2 separate regions of the Homo sapiens genome follow, and region 1 is linked to region 2. Evidence: promoter capture Hi-C in 16 types of primary human blood cells and fetal thymus (Javierre and others, 2016). All regions are on one chromosome and are shown on one strand. Each heading gives the region's core, a stretch centred on a gene start or on the middle of the fragment in contact. The rest is flanking DNA. Distances are from core to core; before and after follow the strand shown.

Region 1 (6,467 bases), core at 1,313-3,812, 690 kb before region 2:
TTCAGTCTGCTCCAGTCTAGCTCATTAAACAGGGATGTATGGCTGACATTTTACCCTGAGTCCAGGCCTGTGTTGGGGGTTGAGGGGACTGTAAAAGAAGTTTAGCACCTCTAAGCATTTTATGGAGGCAAGATAAACATACAAGCAGCAAACTTCTATGAAACCCTCAAAGGACACTGTGTGGCCCCCCATCCTGGCAGCTGTCCCCACTTTGGTTGGTGGTAGTGATTCAATCATTCATTAGTTTATTTTCTCAACAAACTTGCTGTGTGTTGGGTGGGCACTGCATAACAGCCGTGGTATCACAGGAATGAGGAAGACTGAGTCAGAAGCTCACAGTCTTGCATGGGCGATAAGACGTACATAAATAACTAGGTCATCAAATGACAAAATTGTATTCCCTGAATTTCTGCTGATCCTACTTCCTTACTAACTTTTAAAATCTTTTCCTCCCCATCCTCACTACCATTGCTTTTTTCTCTTGGATGATTACATAAGCTTTCGAGCTCATCTTCCTGCCTCCAGTCCAGCTCCCACATTCCCATCAGATGGATTAGTCTACAATCTAGACACGTCATTCCTAGCTCTGAGCCCTCCAGTCTCTATGCAAGATGAGGTGACCTCCACCTCTACTTCCTGGCCAGCTCTCTTGCCGCAAGCTGCCTCACCATTTCTGTGGTATTTGCACTATGTGCCTTTGGGCCCTCTGTCATTCCCTCTGCCAGGGATGCTCTCCCAGCTTGTTCTCCTAAAAGACTCTGTTTGTCCTTTGAGACTCAACTCATGTACCAAATCATCTGGCAAAACTTCCTTGGACTCCTCCACTCCATTCATTTTATTCACTCTTTGATGAGTATTCAGTATGTGTCAGGCATGGTGCCAGGAAGATGAAGGGAAGTGATATGGTTTGAATCTATGTCCCTGCCCAAAACTCATATTGAACTGTAATCCCCAGTATTGGAGTTGGGGCCTGGTGGGAGGTGATTGGATCATGGGGGTAGTTTTTCATGAATGGTTTGGCACCATTCCCCTTGGTACTGTCCTTGTGATAGTAAGTTCTTGTGAGATCTGGTCATTTAAAAATGTGTAGCACCTCCCTGCTCTCTTTCTTATTCCTTCTTTCACCATGTAATGTGCCTACGTGCCTCCTCTCCCTTCACCTTATGCAATGATCATAAGTTTCCTGAGGCCTCCCCAGAAGCCGAGAAGATGCCAGCATCATGCTTCCTGTACAGCCTGCAGAACTATGAGCCAATTAAACCTCTTTTCTTTATAAATTACCCAGTCCCAGATATTTCTTTATAGCAATGCAAAAATGGACTAGGACAGGAAGTAAAACCAATATGGTACCTGACCTTGTTTGTAGAGCTTCAAACTGAGTGATGGAGAGAGATGCTCATTAAACAAGTTTAAAATAAATGTAGGATTACAAACTGTCATAAGCAGGATGAAGAAGAATACAGGGTGCTCTCAGAGAGTATAGCTGTGGCTCCTCTCCCAGAGCATTGTGAAGCAGCTGCAGGTTATTCGTTTCTACTGGGTACTGGCCTCTTGCCCTATGGAGAAGGTCTGACCAAAGGTACAATGGGAATCATTTGGCTTGACCCCGGCTCTGTGTGTTAGGCTAGTTCAGTTGGCTCTGGTTGTGATAATGTAGTCCTTTATTAGATACTTTCTGGAAGATTCTGCCTACCTCATGGTAATCTTCCTGAATTTCCCTCCTCATCCTTGTGCACCAACCCTTATAGTCATGTCTGCATTGTGTTACAGTCCACTTGGTCATGGTTGAAGGTATAGTATGGTATACCTGATCCAAATTTGACAATTCAGTTTCTTTCTCCTCAAAATTTGAGACTCAAAAATTCTAGGACTGGCTGGGATGGTCTGTAGAAAAGAATAGATGGGGACTTGGGAGTAGGGGGTGGCCATTTCTTTCTGTTGTGAACTGAGAAGCAAATGGATGAAAGGAACAGAAAAGAGACCTGCAGCAAGTTCTTTCTTGAGGTCTGGTGCCATTTGTGCCCTTGAGTTCCAAGAAACAGTCTTATATCCTTTTAATGAATTCCCCTTTGCTGCCTCAGCTTAGCTTACGTTGGTTTCTATTTCTTGCAGCTTAAGAATTCTAGCCATACAGATCCCAAACAGCCAATCATCCATGTGAGCAGGTTGAAGAAAAATCCTTCACCCCCGCAAAGGCTTGGATGGAGCTGCTCAAGGCACATCAATCAATGCAGTCAGAGAGACAAGACTGGCAGCTTCTTGGCTGACCTTGAAATGTTTCAGGGGTAGTTTTGGCATCTTGTGTGCCCCAAGTCTACTCCAAAGTGAAATTGCCCAACTGGTTGTTAACAGGCTATTAGTAATTGGTCTGTCTAGTTCTAATGATTGGTTGGTACCTGTGTGTACATGTCCCGCGTTTACTTAGGTGGAACCTCTGGTGTTTTGGGAGTAGTGATTAACCCTGCAGAGTGTATGGTCTTGTTCTAATCTTTGCAGGAGTATTGATGTTAAGTAGACGCATTGTTTGCCAGGTCAAATTTGTCTTTTTCTGTTGCATTTCTTTTTAAAAGCCAAGTTTTTTTTTCTCCTATATCACAAAGAGAATTTTATTTTTCTGATAGGATTTTTTACAGACCTTTAGGATTAAAATTAGCTGCCTTTCACTTCTGGGCTTTACTCTCTTCTTGGGTTAATTTTAGCTAATCAGTGGCAAAATAAGTTGCCTTAAAATCACACTTCCTTCCACAGTCTTAGAAAAATAAATGAAAAAAAGAGACCCTACTTAAGTGGCCTTGTTATTTCTCCTACTTGATTTGCACAGCTTTAGCCTTCCTTCTTTTGTCCATACAAACTGTAACGCAAAGGTCACAAAAATTCCTTGACTTACTGAAATGTGGCTGATAGCATCGTTGAAGCAAACATCGGTCTAACCCACATGTTTCATAGTTCGGAGATTTTCAACTAATAAGAGGAATCAAACACTGTATTTGGGGAAAGATTAAGGTCACTGGCCCTCATTTGAGTTGATTGGTCTCTTGAAATGAGATGTTAATTGTGAAATTGATAGGCAGATTTCCATAAGATTTTACCCCCAATAGTTTGTGTTTATAATTAAAATAATAAAAATGGAAACTGTCCAGTTCAATCAGCATAATCTCCCATCTATTCTCAAGCAACACAACTGGCGTGAGATGCATCTGTGTGTGTGAGTCACATATTCCTTTTACTTTACTTCTGGAGGGAAGGGGAAAAATAAATTGCCTAGAGTCTACATATGTTGACATCTCCACAGAAATTAGAGAACAACCACTACAATGTTGGAATAAAAATGAAAAGAGATAGAGCCACTTTTCTATAAATAATAGAAGATTTTGGATGTTTGCAATTAAGGTTATCACTTGATTCATTCATGCAAGCAATATTTACTGAGTACCTACTTTGTGCTGGCACCGTTGTACTGTAGGTACTAGGGATACGAGGTGAAGATGAGAGTTGGGTTCCAAATCTTACAGAACTTGCATTCTGATAGAAAAGGGTTTTAAGCAGGGGAGTGGTGTGATCTGATGCTGTTTCCAATGGCTGATTACTCTGGCTGCCTTGTGGAACAGGTGCTGGAAGGGGCATGAATAGTTGCAGGAAGACTAATTAGGACACTTGCAGGGGTCCAGGTGAGAGACGATAGTGATTTAGAACTGCTGGTGACAGTGGTGAAGGCAAGAAGTGGTGGATTTAGCACTTCTATTGGAGGTTGAGTGGAAAGAACTTACTGATAGATAAGATGTGGGGGACGAGGAATACAGAGGATTAGATTCCTCCCTCCCCCAGCTGAATTGATGGTGGTACCATGCTGCAGGTGGGAAGACTTGGGGAGGAATTAGGAGTTCCATCTTGAGTACCTTGTCTGTGAGATGCATCCAAATTGATTGACAGGTTGCTAGTTACCTGATTTCCAGAGGGGACTATGGAGCTCAGTACCTGACTAAAGGACGCAGAGTCGTCCTATTTGTGGGGAGCACTAGCAAAATGATTTGCATGCATGACAATATAGAATGGGGAAAAATCTTGGCCAGCTGGTAAATTTGGCAGCACCTGAAAAAAGGAATTCAATAAAGATGAATGAAAGTTTTTAAAACCAAAGATAGAATAGGGATGGGAAGGTGGGGAGGAACATGGGGTTTAGCAGAAGTACTTTGCATTATAAAAGGAGAGGTTTAGGGACAAGTAATATGAAGAGGATGACAAAATGTGTGTGTGTCCTTGAACTGCCTCCATAATAGAGAGAGTCCTGACTTGGGGGTCAGTCAGATCTGGGTTCTAAGTCAGACACCATCGCTTACAAGCTGTATGTCTTCTGGCCAGTTACTGAACCTCTGCACACAAACTCAAAGATTTTTTCTCCCCAAAACATTGAAGTCATTAAGTAAAAACTAATTTGTTTCCCATCTTTTGTTGAGCAAAGATATATCAAGCTGCAGCTTGAAATGTCAGGTCAGCTTGAGAGAGTGTGACCACATGAATTGAAATAATTGCAGCCAAAAGCAAAGGCATTTTTCTTGAGGCACAGGTCTTATCTTGCATGAATGGGTCATTTCAGCTGTGATTTTTAAAACCTTAAGACAAGCTTCTGTACCCTTGAGGCTGTCTTTTCAGTTCCCAGGTTAGGGGCCAATGTGCCATTTCCCAAGAGCATCCCAGGTGAAAATATCTGGGACACTCACTAACCTTGACCACTTCTGTAATTGAGAGGGGATCCAGGGAAACAGAGGTGCACTCTTTCTAAGAATTTAAAGACCTCTACATTTTAGGAAGAGGTATGCAATACTTTCCATGTCTACATTTTAGGAATGGCTGTAGGAAAGGGTATTGGTCATCCCTTCATCTCCATCCATTTTTACATCTCCCTAGGAATGGGAAGAAACTTTCCATTGTGGGAACTAGCTTGGATTATTTCTATGTGATGTTACAGCATCTCGACTTAATTCCAAATCTAGTTGTTTGGTCCACGTAATGCCAAATAATGCTTGATACTTTTGTCCCTGCTTGATTTTACGGGTTGATGGCTAGTACACGGACACAGTCCATGATGAATCAGCCATGTTTCCCAATATGTTTACTACAGGCCAGTGCTTCTCAAATTTCAATGTGAACCACCTGCACATCTTCTTAAAGTGCAGGCTCTGATTCAGCAGGTCTGGGTGGGGCCTGAGAGTCTGCATTTCTGACTAACTGCCAGGCAATGCTGCATCCTGCTTGTCTGGGAATCACACTTTTAGTAGTGAAGTTGCAGAAGCCTAATCTGTTAGTAGAACACAGGTTGCTCAAGAAAAAAGAAGGAGGAAAGGGTCCATGGATAAAGGTCAGGAGTAAATGGCATACCTTACTGGCATCTTAAAGGCCCTGAGAAGTCCTGCAGGTACAAAGAAACTGTTTACTTGTTTTACTTAGGGTCAAATTCATTTGATGATGAAACATTTTTGTTGTTGTTCCCAAGGAAAACCTATTAATGTTCAGTGGAATTAGTTTTCTGTGTATCAGAATTTGAAAACAATTTAGCACGAGAGACACAGATTGTCCTACAACTATGTTGATTGTAAATGGGCCAGTATTCGACTAAGGCAGCCACCTGGGAAAGTGCCAGTGTGTGATGAGTAAAAGCTTGGGATCTGAAGCTGAGTCAAAACCTGAGGTTGAGTCTTGGCTCTCCATTTGGGGTCAGTCAACTTCTCTGAGCCTTGATTTTCTACTGTATAAAATGGGCATAATAAAAGACCCTGTACATGGACACTGTTACTATAGTTGCCTGGATTAGCAAAACAGATGATATTGAGCATCTTGGCTAGAGTGAAAAGTACTCAGGCCAGAAGAAACCCAGGAGAATAGTAATATATGAAGAACAGAAGTTTGAGCAGGAATGATCCCTGGAGACTGATGCAGAACCCTTAATTATAGATTAACTTCACTGCACAGTGGGAAGAATTCACCCAAGACCAAGGACCAATTCACCCAAGCAGCAGAGAGCAGACCAGGACCCAGAACCCTGGTCTGAGCCCACTGCCCTCCAATCCACCTTGCCAGAGCCTCACCAAGTCACCCAAAGAACCCCCTCAGGTTTCCTGTAAGGAGCTACCTTTGTTCCAAACACAGCTTTTTGGGATGAAAACAATCTTCATGCATGAAGTCCAGAATTCACGTGGTTCTTCTGTCAGCACTGTGTTTGAAGCTGTGGGACATAGCAGGAAAAGGAGCAAAGGTTTTGTGCATCAGCACCTTTCCCCTGGAGGAGCCAGGCACGGCATCCCCATCACAGCCTGGTTAGAATCCTTGGGATTACCAGGGCTTCTGTGGAAGCGGTGGTGACCCTCCTACAGAGACAGTGCCTGTGGCATCTGCAGGATGTGGTGCAGCCCGAAGAGATCCTGCAGAGTCAGGGCCAATCTTGCAGAGACTAGGGAGTGCCCCCAGCCCAC
Region 2 (5,887 bases), core at 3,067-5,566:
CCTGTCCATCCCTGCAGAGCCTCCCTCCTACTCCCAGCCCCCCACAGCCCCCGGCTCAGAGACCCCCCACAGCGAGGGCCCCATCTGCTGGAGGCTCGGTGACCTGTGTCAAATGAGTAGGCGCTCGGTCACACTCCAGAGCCTGGAGGAGGCTGCTGTGCTCTGGGAAAGCCCAAGCAGCTCCTGCCTGGGGGCGGGCTGGGCAGAGGCCCCACTGGGGAGGGAGGCCCGGGAGACTCTGAAACTGGCGGCGGCCTGGCTGGGAGCTGCACTCCACAGAAAAGGAGAGTGGGAAAAAATATGAAAAGAAAAGCCTTGGGCCTAGCGCTGCAACCAAACCATGTGGACCAAACTCTGGGTTGGACACAGCCCTTTCCTCTGCTTTCTGATCCCCTGAGCGGATCTGTTATTTCTTACAGGGTGTGGGTAGATATGTCTGTGTGTCTCTGTGATGTGTGGGGTAAGCCTCTTTGTGCATCTGGGTGAGAGGGTGTGCATGGCTGGCTCCACGTGCTCTTGTGTGTGAGTATGATGGTATGCCTATGTGTGTGACTCGGCACACCAGCTGAGAGTCTCCATGTTTGTGGCCCCAAGAGCCTGTTAGGTTTCATGTATCTCTGTGTCAGCAAAGCAGTGCCTACTTCAGCCTATTTCAGCCTATGTGTGGGTTCTGTGTATCTCCCCATTTAGACACATGCCTGTATTTACCACTGGGTGTTGCTTTGTGTGACTATCAATATTCAGCCTAATGGTGCAAGTTTGTGTGTTCCTATTGTGAATCCGTACATTCAGTCCTGTGCTAAATTGCATGGTTGTATCTGTGTGTGTGTGTGTGTGTGTGTGTGTGTGTGTGCACACCTGTTCTCATGCCCACACCACTCTGTGTCTGCATGGGTCACGTGGATGTCTGACCTCTGTGTGTACACCCTGCCTACGTGTTGTGGGTCTGAGGATGAGTTCTCCCCAGGGCCTAAGAAGGTGGTGCTGCAGGACAAAGGGGTTGCTCAGCTGCAGATGTTTCTACCAGTGGCCATGTCTCAGCCCTAGTGTCCCACACAGAATCTTAAGAGTGATGTCAAGACTTCCTGGGGGAAACTTAACTCAAACACAAGAAAATTCTGACTCAAGACCAAACCCATATCCCTGTAGAAGGTCTAAAATTTCCAAAGCAGAGAAAAGAATTATATCTTTCCTGCTTCAAACTGCTTTCCAGCCCAGGCCAGCATCTAACATTTAAAGGGCACCTAAATTGCATGCCTTATTTCATCTGTGGAGCCTCAGAGCAATCCTGAAAAGCAGGCATTATTGTTCTCACTGTAAGATGCACAAACTTAGGCTCCAAGAGGCAATGTGGCTCACACAAAGTCACAGGGCTGCTAAAGGACATGGTGGGATTGGGACTTTGATTTGCTGGGTGACAAGCTGATAACCTAGAAGCCTCGCTACTGCTCTACTGCTGATGCCCCTCAATTCAGCACAGACATGGGAAGACGGTTTCAGGAGCCCCAGCAGGCCCTGGCCTGCCCTTGAGACCTACCAGAAACAGGGCCAAGGGCTCTCTTTGCTGTGCCAGCCAAAGCTGCTGCCTCCATAGACCCCCATCCCACGGTAATGAGGGGAATGATGAGTGAAAACTCACAGGTCCTGTGCCCTTGGACAAATTTTGGGTCCCTCATCTAGGCAATGAAGATAATAATCTCAGTGCTCTCTCACAGGGCTGAGAGGTACAGGTAAAAGTACTTGCTAAAACACTGTGCCTGTATGTATACCTATGTAACAAACCTGCACATTCTGTTCATGTATCCCAGAACTTAAAGTATAATTTAAAAAAAAAAAAAAAATCCGTGCCTGTTGGTCATTGTTCTTCCAGCCTCAGTGGCAATTCCAAAGGCTGGAAATCAAAACACCTGCCCGCTGTCCAGACTTCCTTCAACAGGAACTGAGACAGATTCACAGAATCACAGACCATGAGAGTGAGAAGTGCCAGAGAGGTCGACTGGTCCAAACCTCTGCAATCCCACGCTACAGGTGGAGAAACTGAGATTTAGTTAGAGAGGGGGAATGCCTTGCCTGTCACTGAACAGCAACAATGGAAACGACCAAAGTAAACACCTATCTGAGAGCTTTACACCCCCGTTGTCTCACATAACTATCTGACCTACCTTAGTGAGACAGGTGGGCTGCCTATAGTACTGTTATTCCCAACATACAGGAAGGAAAACCAAGAGCTAGGAAGGCTAGACCAGAGTTACTCTTGCCCAGGGAGATGATGGCAGCTCCAGGTTGAAAGCCCAAGCTTCAATATCACACAGGCCTGGTTAGGGCTGGCACGAGCATGGACTTCACTGCGGAATTCCCAGTCTTCCTCCTACCTCCCAGGCCTGGGAAAGGTGAAAGACCTGGGCTGCCTCAAGGTGACCATTCCCTGGGCCAGAGTCCAGGAAAGCCCAGTATCTCTAGCTCGGTTCAGACACAGAGCTCCATCGCAGCTCTTACAGCTAGGGTGGGACCACGGAGCCTGCTCAGGACAGTGGCCAATGGCAGGATAAGGGCCCTGCTCTGTCCCACTCCTTCCCTGGCTGGTCCTAGGGCATTCAGGGCCCACATGATCAAAGTCTGTGCCCAGGGTGACCCCTGTCACTGTCAACTCTGTCCCAGCCGCCCTGGATCGTTCCAATGGCAGCTGCCACCTGAGCCCCCAGCAACTTTTTTCAATCTAAGGATTTATTCCACAGACCTGATTTGCCCAGTGGGGCCCTAGGTGGGCCCCCAGCTCAGTTCTGTGATCTGGGACCCCAGGGCCCTGTAAGCTATAAATCCACTTGAGGCTAGATCCAGGAGAGAAAAGAGGGAGGACTGGCAGCTGAAGACTCCCTGGGACCCAAGCCTCGGTGTGGGGAAGAGGAGAAAACACAGCTCAGTACCCTCAGCCTGGGGCCCAAGGTCGGGTAAGAAGGCACAAAGGAACTGCAGTGAGGTCCGACTCCACTCAAGATCCTTCAGGGAGTCCTCAAGGGCTGGGGCGTGAGGAGGTAGCTAAATTCCACTGCCCACCTTTCCAACAAGGCCTCCTCAATCTCAATTCCCTTTTCAGCAGCTCCAGGCAAGTCCGGGCAAACTCTAGCCCAGGGCTCTTAGCGAGGCTGGACAGCTCCCGGCCTGCACGCCGGATTTCTGGAGAGCCCGAGCCCCTTCCCTGAGCCCATCCTTCTCCTCTCCCGGGGCGTGATCCCACCACGACCACAGCCGATGAGCCGTTCAAGCTGGGAGAAGGAGCGAGAAGGCTGCAGCGGCGCAGGTCAGATACCCCTGGGCCCAACGTCCACCCCCAACTAGCGCCCTTGCCAGCAGCGTTTTCCCCGGAGCCACAGTCTCCACCTCGAGATCTTCTCCTTCTGGAACCCCGGAGCGCGGCCGGGTACCAGGGGCTCGCGTAGGACTGTAGAACCGCTGCCGCCCGCCGTCCCAGCCCCAGCTGCCCGCGCGGTACTCACCTGGGCCTCAGTGCCCGGGAGAAGGTGTGCCCGCGCGAGGCGTGAAGCCAGAGTCCGTCCGACTCCGCCCGCACCGGACGCGCTCTCAGGGCAGAGGAGGTCGGCGGAGTTGTGACGCTGGGACTAGAGGAAGGAGAAGGAAAGCCGAGACGGGCCGGGCAGACGCGCCGAGGAGCGCCCAGTGCACGCTGGCAGCCGCGGGAGGCGAGGCGGGCGCGGTGAGCAGTCGCGCCGGAACCGAGCCGCGAATCCGCGCCGCCTCGCGCTCGCAGCCGCCAGGACCCGCGGGAATCCTGGTCCGCCGGCAGCGGTACTGAGGAGGGAGGGGCGCGGGGCTGAGCCGCTTCTCGGAGCCCGAGCGCCTCCCGGAGCCGGCAATCCCTGCTGCCCGGGCGGGATGCGGGCGGGAATTCAGCTCGCGTGGAATGTGGGACCGGCCGGGCTCGGAGTCTCCAGCGCTGGGGGAAAGCGGGGCCCACACAGCCAGGACGAGAGGGGGTGCGGTCCCAGGGCCACCCCCGCGCCACTCCCCACGTGGCGGCCGCGCCCCCGGGGCGTGAGTGTGTACGCGGACGGTAGGGGGGCCGTGAATGAAGCCCCAGCGGCCAATCAGCACGGCCGGCGCGCGGGACCCCGGGAGCGACGCCCAATGGAGAGCTCTGGGCGGCCGGGCAGGGTGGCGGGCGGGCGCGCGGGGCGGGGGCCGGGCAGGGGAGGCGGGAGGCAGCTCCGCGGGCAGCCAATGGGCGGCGGGCGGGGTGGGGCTCCGGAGCGCCGAGCGGGTCGGGGCTTTAAGCCGGCGGAGCGAGGCGGCGGGGCCCGCAGACGGAGCGGAGCGGCGGCGGCGGCGCGGCGCAGGGCGCGGGGCGGCATGGCCACCACCGCGCAGTACCTGCCGCGGGGCCCCGGTGGCGGAGCCGGGGGCACCGGGCCGCTTATGCACCCGGACGCCGCGGCGGCGGCGGCGGCGGCGGCGGCCGCGGAGCGATTGCATGCAGGGGCCGCGTACCGCGAAGTGCAGAAGCTGATGCACCACGAGTGGCTGGGCGCGGGCGCGGGCCACCCCGTGGGCCTAGCGCACCCCCAGTGGCTACCCACGGGAGGAGGCGGCGGCGGCGATTGGGCCGGCGGCCCGCACCTAGAACACGGCAAGGCAGGCGGCGGCGGCACCGGCCGAGCCGACGACGGCGGCGGCGGCGGAGGTTTCCACGCGCGCCTGGTGCACCAGGGGGCGGCCCACGCGGGCGCGGCATGGGCGCAGGGCAGCACAGCGCACCACTTGGGCCCGGCCATGTCGCCCTCGCCCGGGGCCAGCGGGGGCCACCAGCCCCAGCCGCTCGGGCTGTACGCGCAGGCGGCCTACCCGGGGGGCGGCGGCGGCGGCCTGGCCGGGATGCTGGCGGCGGGCGGTGGCGGCGCGGGGCCGGGCCTGCACCACGCGCTGCACGAGGATGGCCACGAGGCGCAGCTGGAGCCGTCGCCGCCGCCGCATCTGGGCGCCCACGGACACGCACACGGACATGCACACGCGGGCGGCCTGCACGCGGCGGCGGCGCACCTGCACCCGGGCGCGGGCGGCGGCGGCTCATCGGTGGGCGAGCACTCGGACGAGGATGCGCCCAGCTCGGACGACCTGGAGCAGTTCGCCAAGCAGTTCAAGCAGCGGCGCATCAAGCTGGGCTTTACGCAGGCCGACGTGGGGCTGGCGCTGGGCACGCTCTACGGTAACGTGTTCTCGCAGACCACCATCTGCCGCTTCGAGGCCCTGCAGCTGAGCTTCAAGAACATGTGCAAGCTCAAGCCGCTGCTCAACAAGTGGCTGGAGGAGACCGACTCGTCCAGCGGCAGCCCCACCAACCTGGACAAGATCGCGGCGCAGGGCCGCAAGCGCAAGAAGCGCACGTCCATCGAGGTGGGGGTCAAAGGCGCGCTCGAGAGCCACTTTCTCAAGTGCCCCAAGCCCTCGGCGCACGAGATCACCGGCTTGGCAGACAGCCTGCAGCTGGAGAAGGAGGTGGTGCGCGTCTGGTTCTGCAACCGGCGGCAGAAGGAGAAGCGCATGACCCCTGCGGCCGGCGCGGGCCACCCGCCCATGGACGATGTATACGCGCCTGGGGAGCTAGGGCCTGGCGGGGGCGGCGCATCGCCACCCTCCGCGCCCCCACCGCCCCCGCCGGCGGCGCTGCACCACCACCACCACCACACACTGCCCGGCTCAGTGCAGTGACCCCGCGGGCCGGGCCCCCGCCGGCGCGCTGCAGGGCGCGGGCGCGCAGCCCGCCCGCGCGGCCTGGACTCTTTTTGTTCGGTTGCTTTGGATTTTACAAAAAAAAAAAAAAGCCCAGAAACTTTCGAACAAAACCAAACACCCGGACGACCCTCTCCGGTGAGCG

What was found. The method cuts DNA at HindIII sites, captures the fragments that hold promoters and counts their contacts. A CHiCAGO score of 5 or more calls a contact.
Region 1: a fragment that was not itself captured here is called in contact with the fragment with the promoter of POU3F1 in region 2 in 1 of 17 cell types (endothelial precursors); the score reaches 5.6 in endothelial precursors.

What each region holds. Positions count from the first base shown.
Region 1 is chr1:38,729,883-38,736,349 of GRCh38, reverse strand. No RefSeq gene overlaps it. Among named protein-coding and RNA genes, the nearest start is that of RRAGC, 130 kb to the left of the region's middle. The HindIII fragment of the contact is 4,123 bases long and covers 501-4,623 here.
Region 2 is chr1:38,045,222-38,051,108 of GRCh38, reverse strand. It overlaps POU3F1 (POU class 3 homeobox 1), which reads left to right and starts at 4,316. Exons shown (of 1, transcript NM_002699.4): 1 at 4,316-5,887. The coding sequence starts at 4,366. The coding sequence ends at 5,721. MIR3659HG (MIR3659 host gene) reads right to left here and starts at 3,975. Exons shown (of 5, transcript NR_168386.1): 1 at 3,495-3,975. RefSeq lists enhancers at 3,012-3,512, 3,513-4,013 and a silencer at 3,926-4,255. The HindIII fragment of the contact is 4,132 bases long and covers 2,299-5,887 here.